Regions from separate parts of the Homo sapiens genome. Here region 2 is linked to region 1. Evidence: promoter capture Hi-C in human tissues and cell types (Jung and others, 2019). All regions are on one chromosome and are shown on one strand. The core of a region is centred on a gene start or on the middle of the fragment in contact, and the rest is flanking DNA. Distances in the headings are between cores, read along the strand shown.

Region 1 (6,523 bases), core at 1,651-4,150:
GACGCGAGCAAGGACTCCTTGGCAGGCGAAGGCACAGGGTGAACGTGCGCCTAGATGTGGGAGCAGCGGCCGCCCTGCCCAGCCGGCGGGCTCAGGCGGCGCTGCAGCGCCCCCGCCGTTCGCGTCGCTGCAGCCTCCGCAGGCGCCGCGTCCACGCGTCCCTCCAGGGTAGCACGAGGCTTCCGCGGGCGGCGATGAGCCCGGGCCCCCGGCCCCCCGCGCCCCCAGCCGCGGCTCCAGGCCCGCCCCCCAGCAGGAGGTAGCGGCGGCCGGGGAGCAGGCGCGGGCAGCCGCAGGCCGCATCCCCGGCGGGCACCCACAGCGCGCTACTCCCGCGCCGCGCGCGCTCCTCTCCGCTCCGGAACACGGCGAGCACCGCCACCGGGAAGCGTGTCCACGCGCCGCGCGCCTCGCCGCGCGCACCCACCGCCACCTGCACCGCTGCGGGGAGAGCGAGAGGGGGCGGGGTCAGGAAGGGGCGGCCTGCCCGCGGTAGGGGGAGGCACGGGGAGGACACCAGGAGGGCAGTGGGGGCTGAAGGGGCGGGGTCGCTGCCCGTGGAGGACCTGAGGGATGAGGATGGGCCTTGGGGCCCAGCAAGGGTCAAGGCGTTCCAAGGGGAAGCTGGCGGAGGAGGGAAGGTAGGGAGAGGAGGAAGGTGGGAAGGTCCGCGGGAGGCCTGAGGGCACCTACCATAGTCCTTCTTGCAGAACTTCTTTAGGCTGATGCGGTAGCTGCCACGGGCAGGTTTGCAGTGCGAGTCACAGTCTGGGTAGAAGGTGGGAGGCTGGCACAGACTCCCTTTCCCCACCCTCTCCTCCCAGAGCCCCCTCCCCCAAAGTCATGCCAGTCTGGGGCCCTGTCCTGTGTCCACTCACCCTGGGGCTGCACAGGGCTGCTGTCCTCAGTGGGTCCAGGGATAGGGGTCTCTGCAGAGAGGGAGGGAGAATGGCCTGCGATGGAGGGGCAGAGAGATCTGCAGGGCTCGGGGAATAGACGGGACAACAGCAGGGAGCTGGGGTGGCCTTGGCTTGGTGGCTGAGGCGGGGCAGGGTCACTCACTAACACAGGGCGCCACTGGGGAGCGGCTTTGCTGGAAGCCAGGCGCGCAGCGGTTGCAGGTGAGGCCAGTGACGCCATCCTTGCAGGGACACTGGCCTGTGGTCTGGTTGCAGGTCTTGCCAGCAGCACCAACCGGGTGACAGTCGCAGGCTGAGGACAGAGGTGGGAAGGGCCTGGTCAGAAGCCTGTCTGGGGATCTGGGAAGTCAGAGGGTGAGGGCCTGCAGGTGGCCGGTGGTGGCTCACCCCTGCAAGCCCGACGGTCACTCAGGGCACGGCCAGGGTCTCGATAGAAGCCCTCCCGGCAGTAGTGGCAGTGGCGGCCGGCGGTGTTGTGCCGGCAGTTGAGACAGACACCCCCGCTGCGGCGGCCGGACAGTCGGTACAGCTCCATGTTGAAGCGGCAGCGGCGGGCATGGCCGTTGCAGGAGCAAGCTGCAGGGAGGGATGGGTCAGGGGCAGGCTGGTTGTGTCCAAGGTCCCCAGGCCACCCTCCAAGGCCTCACCGAGGCAGGCGTGGGATTCCCGGGCAGTGGCCCGCTGCCATGGCCTGTCGCAGTAGAAGGGCTTGCAGCGGCCGCAGTCAGGGCCCTCGGTGCCATGCCGACAGTCGCAGATCAGGTGGCCCTGTGTGTCCAGCAGGCACCGTGAGGCATGTCCATTGCACTTGCAGCGCCCGCCCACCTGGAGGTCGGTGGCTGCGTAGGAGTAAGGGACGACGGCCTCCATGTCCCTGGGGTCACCTGCCGTGCTAGGCCTTGTGAGCACTACACGGACGTCGGTGGCGGTCACCCAGTCTTGGAGCACTGGGCTGCTGTCCAGGTCCAGGCCTGGGGGGCTGCTGTCCTGCATGCTGAAGGCCAGAAGGCCGCTGCCATCAGGCTGGGCCAGGGGTGCGGGGAAGCACAGGGCCTCAGGCCCTGGGCCAGCTGGGCCATTGGCAGGGGCAGGCAGACGGCCATAGTCCAGGTCACAGTGGGAGGAGAAGAAGCCCAGCGGGGCCCAGCTGCGGCCATGGTCCTGAGACTTGAGCAGGGCCACGGAGGCTGGGGGAGCTGAGCAGAAGCGCAGGCTCACGAAGACCAGCTCAAAAGCCTTGCCCAGGGGCACCGTGAGAGTCACGTTGAGGGGCGCCCGAGGCAGGGACTCCGAGCGCCAGCACAGAGGGCTGGCCGTGCCCCCTGGGGAAGTAAGGAGGGCGGGGGAGTGTGCCCGTCGCGGGTCGGAGGCGTCGCAGGCCCGAGTGGCCGGCCGCCCGCACGTGCTGGAAGCCAGCACCTCGCGGCCCAGGGCGGCGTTCACCAGTCCTGGCACGCAGCCGCGGGGCGCACCCCCCTCATCGTGGCAGGGGTCGGCGGGCGCCGGCGGCCCAGGACTCAGGGCGGCGAAGAGCGTGCCTGCCGTCAGCAGCAGCCCCCAGGGCCAGCCAGGCATGGCCGGAGCCGCTGCGGGTCAGCCAGTGGCCGGGCCCCAAGACGCTGCCCTTGGGGAAAAGAAGCCCTCTCCGCGGCTCTGCCCACCAGGCCCGCAATGCCGAGGAACAGGGCCCCCGGGCGGCCCCAGCCCGGCCCAGAGGTGGGAGCAGCGGCGGGCACGCCCCGGGCCCAGCACAGCAGCGGGGATGTTGGCGCGTCCTCCCGCTGGGCCTAGAGCGATGACAGGCGTCGCCCCCGCTCCCGGTGCCTCCGCCCGCGGAGGCCCCACCCGCCGCTCGCACTCACCCACCGAGGGCCGGGCGGAGCAGGTCTCCCGGCCTCCCGGGAAGGGCCGTGGGCGGGCGGGGCCTGCGGTGCACGGGCCGCCGCCTCCTCCCGGCTGCAGCGAGGGCGGACGAGCTGTGCCAGGAGGGGGTGGGGGGCGCAGCAGGCGCAAGCCCGGGCCCAGCCGGGGGCGGGGCTGCTCGGGTCGGGAAGGAGGCAGGGGAGGGGAGGGGGCCTCATCGCAGAGCTGGAATCAGAAGCAGATTCAGACGCGGGCTGGGCCAGCGGGGAAGGGGGCTGGGAGGCCCGGGAGCCAGGGGAGGGGCCGGGGAGCCAGGAATGCGCTGGCGGGAGGGGTCTGGAGGGGGGCAGCTCAGCCTTCGCAGCCCGTGGGGGACCACCCAGCAGGGTCCTGGGCCCACAGCCAGGTCTTTACTGCTCCTGGGGCTGTGCCACGTGCTGGACGGGGGTCTGGGTCGCCTCCTCCCTGAAGACCATCAGGCAGGCAAGGCCCCGGGTCTGACAGCAGAGGCCCTGGATGTTCCCCAGGTAGGGAAGCCAAGTAACCACCAGTTGAAGGGTCATCCCCAAAGCAGCATCTACTCGAGTAGAAGGAACCCAGGATTCGGTCAGGTCTAATTTTGAATCCAACTGCCCCATTTCTGGCTGCATGTCTTGGGCTCCTGTTTCCTCACCTGCCAGATGCCTGTTACTCAGCACGCGCTCTGAAGCTGTTGGATTTGATGAGTCTCAAGTGGCATCAGGCCCAAGTCGAGAGCTGCACAAATTGGAGTGTCTCCTGCCCATGTTGAGGAAGGGGGGCACCCCCATGGGCCTGAGCTGGGCTAAGACATGAGGCCAGCATCCCCTGCACCAGGCCAGATTCTGATCCCAAAGCTCCCTGGGTCTGCAAGTTTCTAGGGGCACCTCTGCCACGGGCCCAGCTGGCAGGGAGGACATGGAAGCTGGAGGGTGGGATGGGGTGGCTTCTTGGGGTTCGGGGGCTTGGTTAGCTGTTGAGGACCCCTCTGCAGGGGCAGGGAGTAGGGTTTAATCATGGGAAGGGGCTGGTCGCAACCCGGAGCCCACTGCCCTACGTCACAGCACGTTTGGGCAGGGAAACTGAGGCAGAAGCCCAGCTGGGTGGCCTGGGGACTAGCTGGGGATGGGGTAGCTGTGCCTGGGAGCGACACCACCAAAGAGGGTCCAGGAACAGCTCTGGTCAGAGAAACCTCCTCCCCTCCGACTTTCAGGTCCTTGACAGAGGAGGCCAAGCATCCCAGGGAGGGGCAGGGAACAAGTTCCGTGCAGGGCCAGCATCGAGGCCTGAATGCCCCGTTTCAGATGGGAGGCCAGGCCTGCAGCTGGTGGAGGAGGCCACGTGGGTGCTACCCTGGACACGACCAGAGATGAGCAAGGACCAGGAGGAAGAGAATGGAGAGGTAGACGCATCCCGCTGTTGGGGAGAGGAGGGGCAGGAGGACACGGAAGCCTCCTAGGGGAAACTGAAGGACCAGAGGAGGGAGCAGGAGGGCCTGACCATGGAGGGGAGGAACGGGAAGACAGGGTGATAGGGCACCTGGCTTGGCTCCTGGAGCAACTGACACTGGCTGGTGGGCACCTTCTCCTTGCCACACATCTGCATGTGACAGCCACAGATGCACAGGGATGGGGGCACCGGAGGACTGAACAGAGAGGGCTAAGGGGCTCTCTCTCTGCCACAGGGCCCCTGCCCCTCAGCTTCCTGATAAAGAGAATGGGAATTGTGTCCTTTACAAGTTGAGGGACCTCAACCTGACGGGGCTCACGCTCCGCTCTGTGGGTCAAGCTTAGAACCTGAAACGTCCCAACCACCCTCTTCAAGGTCCTTCTGGCTCCCAACCCCCACCCCCCGACACCCCACCCTAAGGGTGGGAGGAACCCTGGGGGGACTATGGGGGCTGAGATCATCATTCTGGGACAGTGGAGAGAAAAGCCCAGGCCTGACAGAGGGGTCCCACTGGCCAGAGACAAGCCTCTGGGGAAACCCAAGCTGTCTCTGGACGTCAGGGCCACTGCCAGACTGGCTGCCAGCCAGGCTGCAAGAGGGACAGTGGCCAGCAGCCTCTTCCACCCTCATCAGAGGGGCTGGCTTTGTCTCCAGCTCAGCTTCCCTGTGAGCCAGGACTGGGGTCTGCAGAACGTCTGGTGGCTTCTGGGGTGGGGGAAAGTAGGTGCCTGGGGCTCAGCCCTGCCCCAATTGTTCATCTGGGTCAGCAGCAGCGGCGGGAGGCCGTGGGCCCAGAGGGCCATTGTACCGCCAGCTCCCCAGGGAGGAGGCCGCTGGTCACAGGGCCTCTCCCCAGGAACAGTCCTCTGCACACGCTACTCTGCCCCCACCCCCAGCCCTCACAGATGGTGTTTGGGAGTTAGGAAGGGCCTCCCCACAGCGCCCAAGCGGGACTTATTGCTCCCCAGGGACCCAGCCACCTGTCCCAGCCCCTGGCTGGGGCCTCTCCCACCTCCCACCTCTCCACTGGCCCTGCCCCCTCCTGGCACCTTCTGCAACAAAGAAGCTCCGCCTCCCCTCCCCCCACCTGCAACTCAGGCCGCAGTGCTTCGCCTCCCCCTCCCCACCCCACCCCTCACCCCTAGAGTGGCAGCTCCAGCTTTGGGGCACAGGCTGGGGAGAGGGCATAGATGGGCTGGACAGTCCTAGGCGGCAGGGAGCTGAGAGTCTTTCCTGTAAGATGCCCGTTGATCCAATAATTCCCTGCCCAGCCCAGAACCTGCTGTCTCCCCCCAGACGCCTGCAAGCCACCACATGTTCACCTATTGCACATTTATCGAGCGCCTATTATGCCTCGGGGGGTTTCCAACCGAGCTCCGAAGGCAGACAGCCCAGGAGCAGACACAGCGCCGGCTCCCAACGGCGGGTGGTGTGGCCGAGCCCGCGTCGCGCTGCCCTGCACCCAGCACCCTCGCGCCGGGTCGATCCCCCAGCCTCGCAGACCGCTGCCCAGCCAGGCCGCTCTGCGGTCGCGCCAGCTCTGCGCGCCAAGTCAAAAGCTGAAATGCGACGTTGGACGGAGGAGGGAAGAGAGGGAAAGCAGAGAGGGAGGGAGGGAAACGGCCGGTGGCCTTCTCTGCCCAAAGGGTTCCAGAAGAAACGATTTGGGGATGGGGTGTGGGGGGCGGCCTCTGCGACCACGCTTGGCACTGCGCCCGCCCGGCCGGGGCGAGGTTGGAGGGAGGGGCGGCCGGCTCGCGGTGACCTCGATGGGAGGGGGCCTCGCCCGCGGCTCAGGGCGCCCCCGGCTCCCTGCGCCCGGCCCTTCGCCTCCGCCGAGCGCGCCAGCACAGGAAGGCGGCGGTCAGAAGCCCCAGGCCCGCACTGAGCGCGGCCAGCGACGAGCCCTGGGCCAGGTCCAGGCGGGGTCCCCGCAGCGAGAAGGTGATGGCCGTGGCAGCCGCACCAGCCAGCACGGCCACGGCACCGAACGGCAGAATGCAGCGAGGCCACGAGCCCCCAGCGCCGCCGGTGGCCAAGAGCAGGGCGCGCAGGGCCCCGGGGGGTTCCGGGTGCGCCAGACCCGGCCCGGGGGGCGAGGCGGGCGCCGCTGGGGGAGGCTCGAGCGCGCTCATGCCGCCAACGCGGTGGCCGCGCTCGGTGGGTGGTGTGGACGCCCGCGCAGTCCCAGTGGCGTTCCAGGCTCGCCACGTCAGAGCCCATTGGCTCCAGAGGCGGTGACGCCAGCCGGGAGCCCGAGGAGTCAGCTGCTA
Region 2 (6,523 bases), core at 1,743-4,242, 35 kb before region 1:
TCGAGGGCGGCAGGGGAGGTGGAGCCCTGAGCTGCTCCCGCTGGACAGCAGGCACTGAGGGGGCAAGAGGTTGGAGGCAGACGACTGCAATGACCCCAAGGACAGGGCAGCTCCCCCTTCTCGCTCACCCCAAGCTTTCAGGGTTGATGGAAAAGGGCCTGAGTGGGCCCTCCTCTTTGAGGACCCAGTGGGGTGGGCAGGGAGTCCAGCCGGCCCTGACCACTAGGCAGCAGTGTTCGGCGTTTCTTCTGCAGGCAGGTGGGCAGGTGGAGGACCCCATTGGCTCACAGGTGCTATAGTAGCCATTGGGTTTTTTTGGACACAAACTTCCAAATGACCAGGGCCGGGGGCTGCACCTGCACCACGACCAGGTTTTTCAGAACGGGTGTCAGATAAACGCTCAGCCCTAGGCAGCCTGGACCCCATGTCTGGTTTCAGGGTGCACCCTGAAGGCCAACACGGCCTCCTCACACTCCACCCAGGGGGTCAGGGCTCACCGCCGCAGCCCTTGCCCGCCTCAGACCCTGATCCATTCATTCAGTTCCCTGAGCACCTACTATTGTGCCAGGTGCTGAGTGAGGCCCCTGCCAGACAAAGACAAGTTAGAGTCCCTACCCTCAAGACCTGGCAGCCTACCAGGGAGCAGTAGCGTCCCCAACGGTACAGCCAATGCCGCACCAGAAGTGTGGTTCCTAGAAGCAGGGGGGACAAGGGAAGGAGGTGCTGGGACTAGCTCGGTGGGTCGCAGAAGAGGTGATCTCTGAATTAGGACTTGAAAGATGAAGAGAGGGCATAGAGCAGGGGAGAAACATGATCCAGTCTGTATTTAAGTAAGTCACAGACTGGTCGGGCACATGGCTCACACCTGTAATCCCAGCACTTTGTGAGGCCAAAGTGGGCGGATCACCTATGGTCAGGAGTTGGAGACCAGCCTGGCCGACATGGTGAAATCCCGTCTGTACTAAAAATGCAAAAATTAGCCGGGTGTGGTGGCGGGTGCCTGTAATCCCAGCTACTAGGGAGGCTGAGGCAGGATAATCGCTTGAACCCGGGACGGGGAGGTTGCAGTGAGCAGAGATCATGCCACTGCACTCCAGCCTGGGTGACAGAGCAAGACTCCATCTCAAAAAAACAAAAACATGAAAATGAAACCCAAAGTCATAAGATAGAGAGGCATGGGGAGCAGCTGCTTGCTGGGGCCAGGTTTTCCTTTAGGAGTGGGGAAATGCCATGGAACTGGAGGTGGTGGTTCCACAACATGCTCATTCATGCAACCACCACCTCTGTCTGGGGTCGTTCAAATGGTTGGATAGTATGTCAATTTCACTTCAATTTTTTTAAAAGAAAAATGAAACAGTTTCATGGCAGGCTAGAGGGAAGACTGTGCCCTGGACACCTGCCACAGACTAGGCCCGGAAAGCAGCCTGAGGGAAGGCTGCTGGTAGAGGCGGCAGGAAGGGAGGGGGCGGCACTGCCTGGCCAAGCTCTGGGCAGACACCAGCCCCACAGTGAGCTGGCCTGCAGGAGGAAGCAGCCCTGCGCCCCACCTCCCAGGCCAGAGCGCTCTGCACGCCCCGCTCAGGGACAATCTTGCCCAATTCTGGCCTGAGTGTGTGTCCTAATGTCAAGCACAAGACAGTCCGAGCACTTACAGTAAGTGCAAGAGTTACTGCAGGGAGCGTGGCGGGTGTGGGAAGGGGGTGTCCCGCCACCACAGGCCCCAGGAGCACACCTGGAGAATCTCTGATCACCCTGGACGCACAGCAGCAGCGCACACCAACCCACAGGGGCTTCAGTTCATTCTGCAGTGCTAGGCACTCCTGCCCCTTGAGACTGACAGTCTTTAGGACAGGGGGTGGGGAGACCAGCCAACACCTGTCTCAGGTGCTGTGAAGCTAGAACGCGGACCCGGCCTCAGCGGGGAGCTCAGGGAAATCCTGGGAGGGACACTAGGGCCCAGGCATGAGGAGTGGCAAATAGCACGCGCAAAGGCCGGGAAACAGAGGCTTTCAGTTCAGAGGAACTGAAAGAAACCTGGTGCCAGAGAGCCTGTGGCTGTGTTGGGGGCCAAGCTTCCTGCCAGGCTAGCAGACCAGGAGGCCTCTCAGACCCGGGACAGGTGCTGCCCCAACAGTCCCCTGAAGGTACTGAAGGAAGGTGTTCAGAGGAGCAAAGAAAGAGGGCTTGGCAGGAAGGGGCCACCCCCGTGGCCAGTCTGGGGAAGAGGAACCCAGGAGCATAGAGTGGGCAGAGGCAGCTCACGTGACGGCAGGCAGAGGCTCCACAGCAGCTGCAGGGAGGGCCCCCAGCAGCCTCGGTCTCACTGGAGGAACTGGACAGGGAGGGGGCATCTGTGCAGGGCTCAAAAGAAAAAAGGCATTCTATTTTTCTTTGTATTATACCGATCCACAATTAAACACAAGGTACTAAAAAGACGTGGCCGGGCACGGTGGCTCACCCCTATAATCCCAGCACTTTGGGAGGCCGAGGCAGGCGGATAACTTGAGGCCAGGAGTTAGGGACCAGCCCGGCCAACATGGTGAAATCCGGTCTCTACTGAAAATACAAAAATTAGCCGGACATGGTGGCAGGTGCCTGTAATCCCAGCTACTCAGGAGGCTGAGGCAGGAGGATACCTCAAACCTGGAAGTTGGAAGTTGCAGTGAGCCAAGATCGCACCACCACATTCCAGGCTGGGCGATACAGCAAGACTCCGTCTCAAACAAAAAAAAAGACATTCATTAATATTGACGTGGCCAGGCGCGGTGGCTCACGCCTGTAATCCCAGCACTTTGCGAGGCCGAGGCGGGTGGATCACGAGGTCAGGAGATAATTCCATCCTAGCTAACAGGGTGAAACCCCGTCTCTACTAAAAATACAAAAAAATTAGCCGGGCGTGGTGGCAGGTGCCTGTAGTCCCAGCTACTCGGGAGGCTGAGGCAGGAGAATGGTGTGAACCCAGGAGGTGGGGCTTGCAGTGAGCCGAGATTGAACCACTGCAGTCCAGCCTAGGTGGCAGAGTGAGAGTCCATCTCAAAAAAAAAAAAATTATATATATATATATATATATATAGAGAGAGAGAGAGAGAGAGAGAGAGAGAGAGACGCAAACTTTCAAAGGAAATACTCATTTTGAAATTTTGAATGAGAAAGGTTGAGTTTGTTTTTTGATACTCGTGTTTTACACACGACAGGGGTTCTTCACTATTTTTTTGTGGAGATGGAGTCTCCCTGTGCTGCCCAGGCTGCTCTCAAACTCCTGGCCTCAAACAATCCACCCACCTCAGCCTCCTAAAGTCTTGGGATTACGGGTGTGAGCCACCACACCCGGCCTTGACAGGGATTCCTGATGAAACGTCTGACACTGATTCTTCATGGTGACTCCTCTAAGTCTCCCTAAGACTTTGCTGAGTGTAGCTGTCCACACAGCAGGCACTAGGAACAAAAGAAAACAAGACGGATCAGGGAATGCTGCCGTTCTCACCGGCCACGGCTGCAAATGCGACAGACATGTACCTGTCGCCTCAGTGGAGAGACTCGCTGGTGACCACAATGCGCAGATGCGGTCTTGTCAACCTAGCGCCTCCCTCTCTCCTCCAACACCCTGGAGAAGAGGCGTCCAGGACTTCCCATCCCTCTAAGCCTTCTCATAGCAAGTTATTTCACAGTGACCTTCTTTTACCAGTTCTCGATTTTATTTAGGACTCAAATTAACACCAACCAAACATATCACTAACTCACTTATTTTCACATTTTCAAAGTTGGATTGTGCTGCAAATCCATACATTTGTGCTCACTACACATTTTTTTTATTACATTCATTGAGAGGCTCCAAAGCATCAGTCCAATAAACATTTTTCCAGCCCGATAACCATCCTTCGTAAGAACTAAGAGGTAAAATCATTCACACAACTATTTTTTCCCTTCTATCCTTAGCTCATAAGCATTTGACCAAATGCCAATGTTTTTGCCAGTTCATGTTGTCCGTGCCTTATCACAAGTGACATGTCTACAGGACACGGTATCCACTGACTTTGCTTCCTTGGTCCCAAGAAAAGGTGTTGACAAATTCCATAGTTTGGTAAAATGAGTGAGTCTGCAATTGTGGGAGGCATTTTGTTTTTAGCAATGAATCACATTACATTGTACCTAACTTCTCAAGCACAATCTGATACTAAGATGATGAAGATAGTTCTTAAAAACTCTTTATACCAGATGATTTTTAAAAATCCACATACTTTTCTACCTAACATAGATGTTGTAGGGTGAAGAGCCTATGAGGCTTGTTTGGCACTCCTGCTTCATTTGATAATTTCTCCACGCAAACAAGACATTTAGGCTGAGAAAGAGAACCAGCAAGAATCTGGATGAGCTGGGCACAGCAGCTCACGCCTGTAATCCCAGAATTTAGGGAGGCAGAGGCGGGAGGATTGCTTGAGTCCAGGAGTTCAAGACTAGCCTGGGCAACACAGCAAGACTATGTTCTCCACAAAAAGGGAGGAAAAAAATCTATATGAACCCAAATTTGAGGCAGGTGCTGTATTGCCTAATTAGTGGCCATTTGGGTTTTTTTGACCAGTGGTTTTGTGAGTTTGATGATATTCTGGACTTAGTAAAAATGTGAGAAAGTAAACAACTGTAAAAATTAAATCGATTCCTGGACAGTGGGAAAAAAACGGGGCAATCTCGGCTGGGCGCGGTTGCTCACGCCTGTAATCCCAGCACTTTGGGAGGCCGAGGAGGGCAGATCACGAGGTCAGGAGATCAAGACCATCCTGGCTAACACGGTGAAACCCCATCTCTACTAAAAATATAAAAAAATTAGCCGGGTGTGGTAGCAGGTGCCTGTAGTCCCAGCTACTCAGGAGGCTGAGGCAGGAGAATGGCGTGAATCCGGGAGGCGGGGCTTGCGGTGAGCCGAGATCGCGCCACTGCACTCCAGCCTGGGCGACAGAGCGAGACTCTGTCTCAAAAAAAAAAAAAAAAAAAAAAGGGACAATCTCAATAGGCCTGTGGTTTAGTTAACAGCAATGCAACAATGCTTATTTCTTTGTTTTGATATTGACTTGGGGGAAGGTGAGGGTACATGGAAACCCTGTACCGTCTCTGCAACTCTTCTGCAAATCAAAAATTACTTCAAAATAAAAAGGTACACAACTAAATTACTAAATATAAACTACTCAAGGAGACTGCAAAGGCTTTATGGGTTCAGAAAGTGGATAAGAGAAATATGAAGGCCTCTGAAATCTTCAAAACGTTTTAAAACAAATTCCACTGAAAAACTCAAAAAATGAAGTATGCGGCTTACAAAAATAGAAAAATTAAAATACTTTAGTTCATTAAAACTCTGAAAAAATTCAAGTACAAATGACTTACTCTCATAAGTTCTTTTGCTTAAACTGATTTTCTGAAGCCCCAAAGGCATATAATCTGCTTTAATGAATTCATTTAATAAACTATTTTAAATTAGGTGCAATTGTTGTTTTAAAAATAAATGTTAAACATTTATTCAGCACAAAGTGGTCTATTCAAAAAAATTAAAAAATAGGCTAGGCGCGGTGGCTCACGCCTGTAATCCCAGCACTTTGGGAGGCTGAGGGGGGGGTGGATCACGAGGTCAGGAGTTCAAGACCAGCCTGACCAACACAGTGAAACCCTGCCTCTACTAAAAATACAAAAAAAATTTAGCTGGGCGTGGTGGCGTATGCCTGTAATCCCAGCTACTCAGGAGGCTGAGGCAGGAGAATCGCTTGAACCCAGGAGGCGGAGGTTGCAGTGAGCCAAGATCATGCCACTGCACTCCAGCCTGGGTGACTCTGTCCCAAAAAAAAAAAAAATCAAAAAATAATTCTTTGAATGTTTCTAAAAACAAATGATAATTTATTATGCAGTTTCAACAAATGTTGGCTTTTTTTTTTTTTAAACAAAGAATGGCTACTTCATAGGCAGAGCAGCCACTTTTGGCTAATTTTTAACATCCAAAGCTAATAAATAATCAAGAAGAAATAGAGAACATTAACAAAATAAATTATGTTCTATTTGGGAATACCTAATATCAGATACTAACAAGTACAGTGATAAGAATAAAAAAGATAATAATCACACATACCTTCTAGGTTAGTAGAAAAGTTAGGAAAAGATATTAAATTTAAAGAAACAATATTTTGCATGCACACAAAAAACAAAGAACTTCGCTCATGATGTGGAAATCATGACCCAGCAGCAATCCGTCTTCCTGGTCCAGATCACTGGAAGGCCCGGGTGGGGCCCCCTGGGGGCAGCCACGCAGAACCTGCTGGACTTAACTCGCCAGAAAAATCACCACCCAGTTCAGGAAGTTTGCAGAGGGAAACCTACAAATGGTCCACGGATATGACTTCCCTGCTCCTGGAGGGCTCCCTCTGGAAGAGGCTTGCAGCATTCCAGTCATAGAATGTGGGTGAGCACTACAGCGGGCAGCCTCCCACACCTGCTTGGCTGTAGGCCCAGGAAGCCCCCGGAGGCCCCTCTGGCTGAAGAGATC

What was found. The method cuts DNA at HindIII sites, captures the fragments that hold promoters and counts their contacts. A contact is called where the count stands out against the background at its distance.
Region 2: a contact is called between a fragment that was not itself captured here and the fragment with the promoter of NTN3 in region 1, in 1 of the 25 tissues and cell types used here (lymphoblastoid cells).

Annotation. Positions count from the first base shown.
Region 1 is chr16:2,467,674-2,474,196 of GRCh38, reverse strand. NTN3 (netrin 3) reads right to left here and starts at 2,900. Exons shown (of 6, transcript NM_006181.3): 1 at 1,568-2,900; 2 at 1,308-1,496; 3 at 1,063-1,212; 4 at 879-929; 5 at 694-768; 6 at 52-441. The coding sequence starts at 2,495. The coding sequence ends at 92. TEDC2-AS1 (TEDC2 antisense RNA 1) reads left to right here and starts at 5,984. Exons shown (of 1, transcript NR_135198.1): 1 at 5,984-6,523. RefSeq lists silencers at 1-128, 189-248, 319-468, 2,623-2,762, 6,026-6,075 and 2 more and enhancers at 4,696-4,775, 4,936-5,075, 5,035-5,578. The HindIII fragment of the contact is 12,116 bases long and covers 1-6,523 here.
Region 2 is chr16:2,502,884-2,509,406 of GRCh38, reverse strand. It overlaps TBC1D24 (TBC1 domain family member 24), which reads right to left. Exons shown (of 8, transcript NM_001199107.2): 8 at 3,677-6,523. Among named protein-coding and RNA genes, the nearest start is that of ATP6V0C, 7.8 kb to the left of the region's middle. RefSeq lists enhancers at 1,217-1,717, 1,718-2,218. The HindIII fragment of the contact is 3,777 bases long and covers 1,104-4,880 here.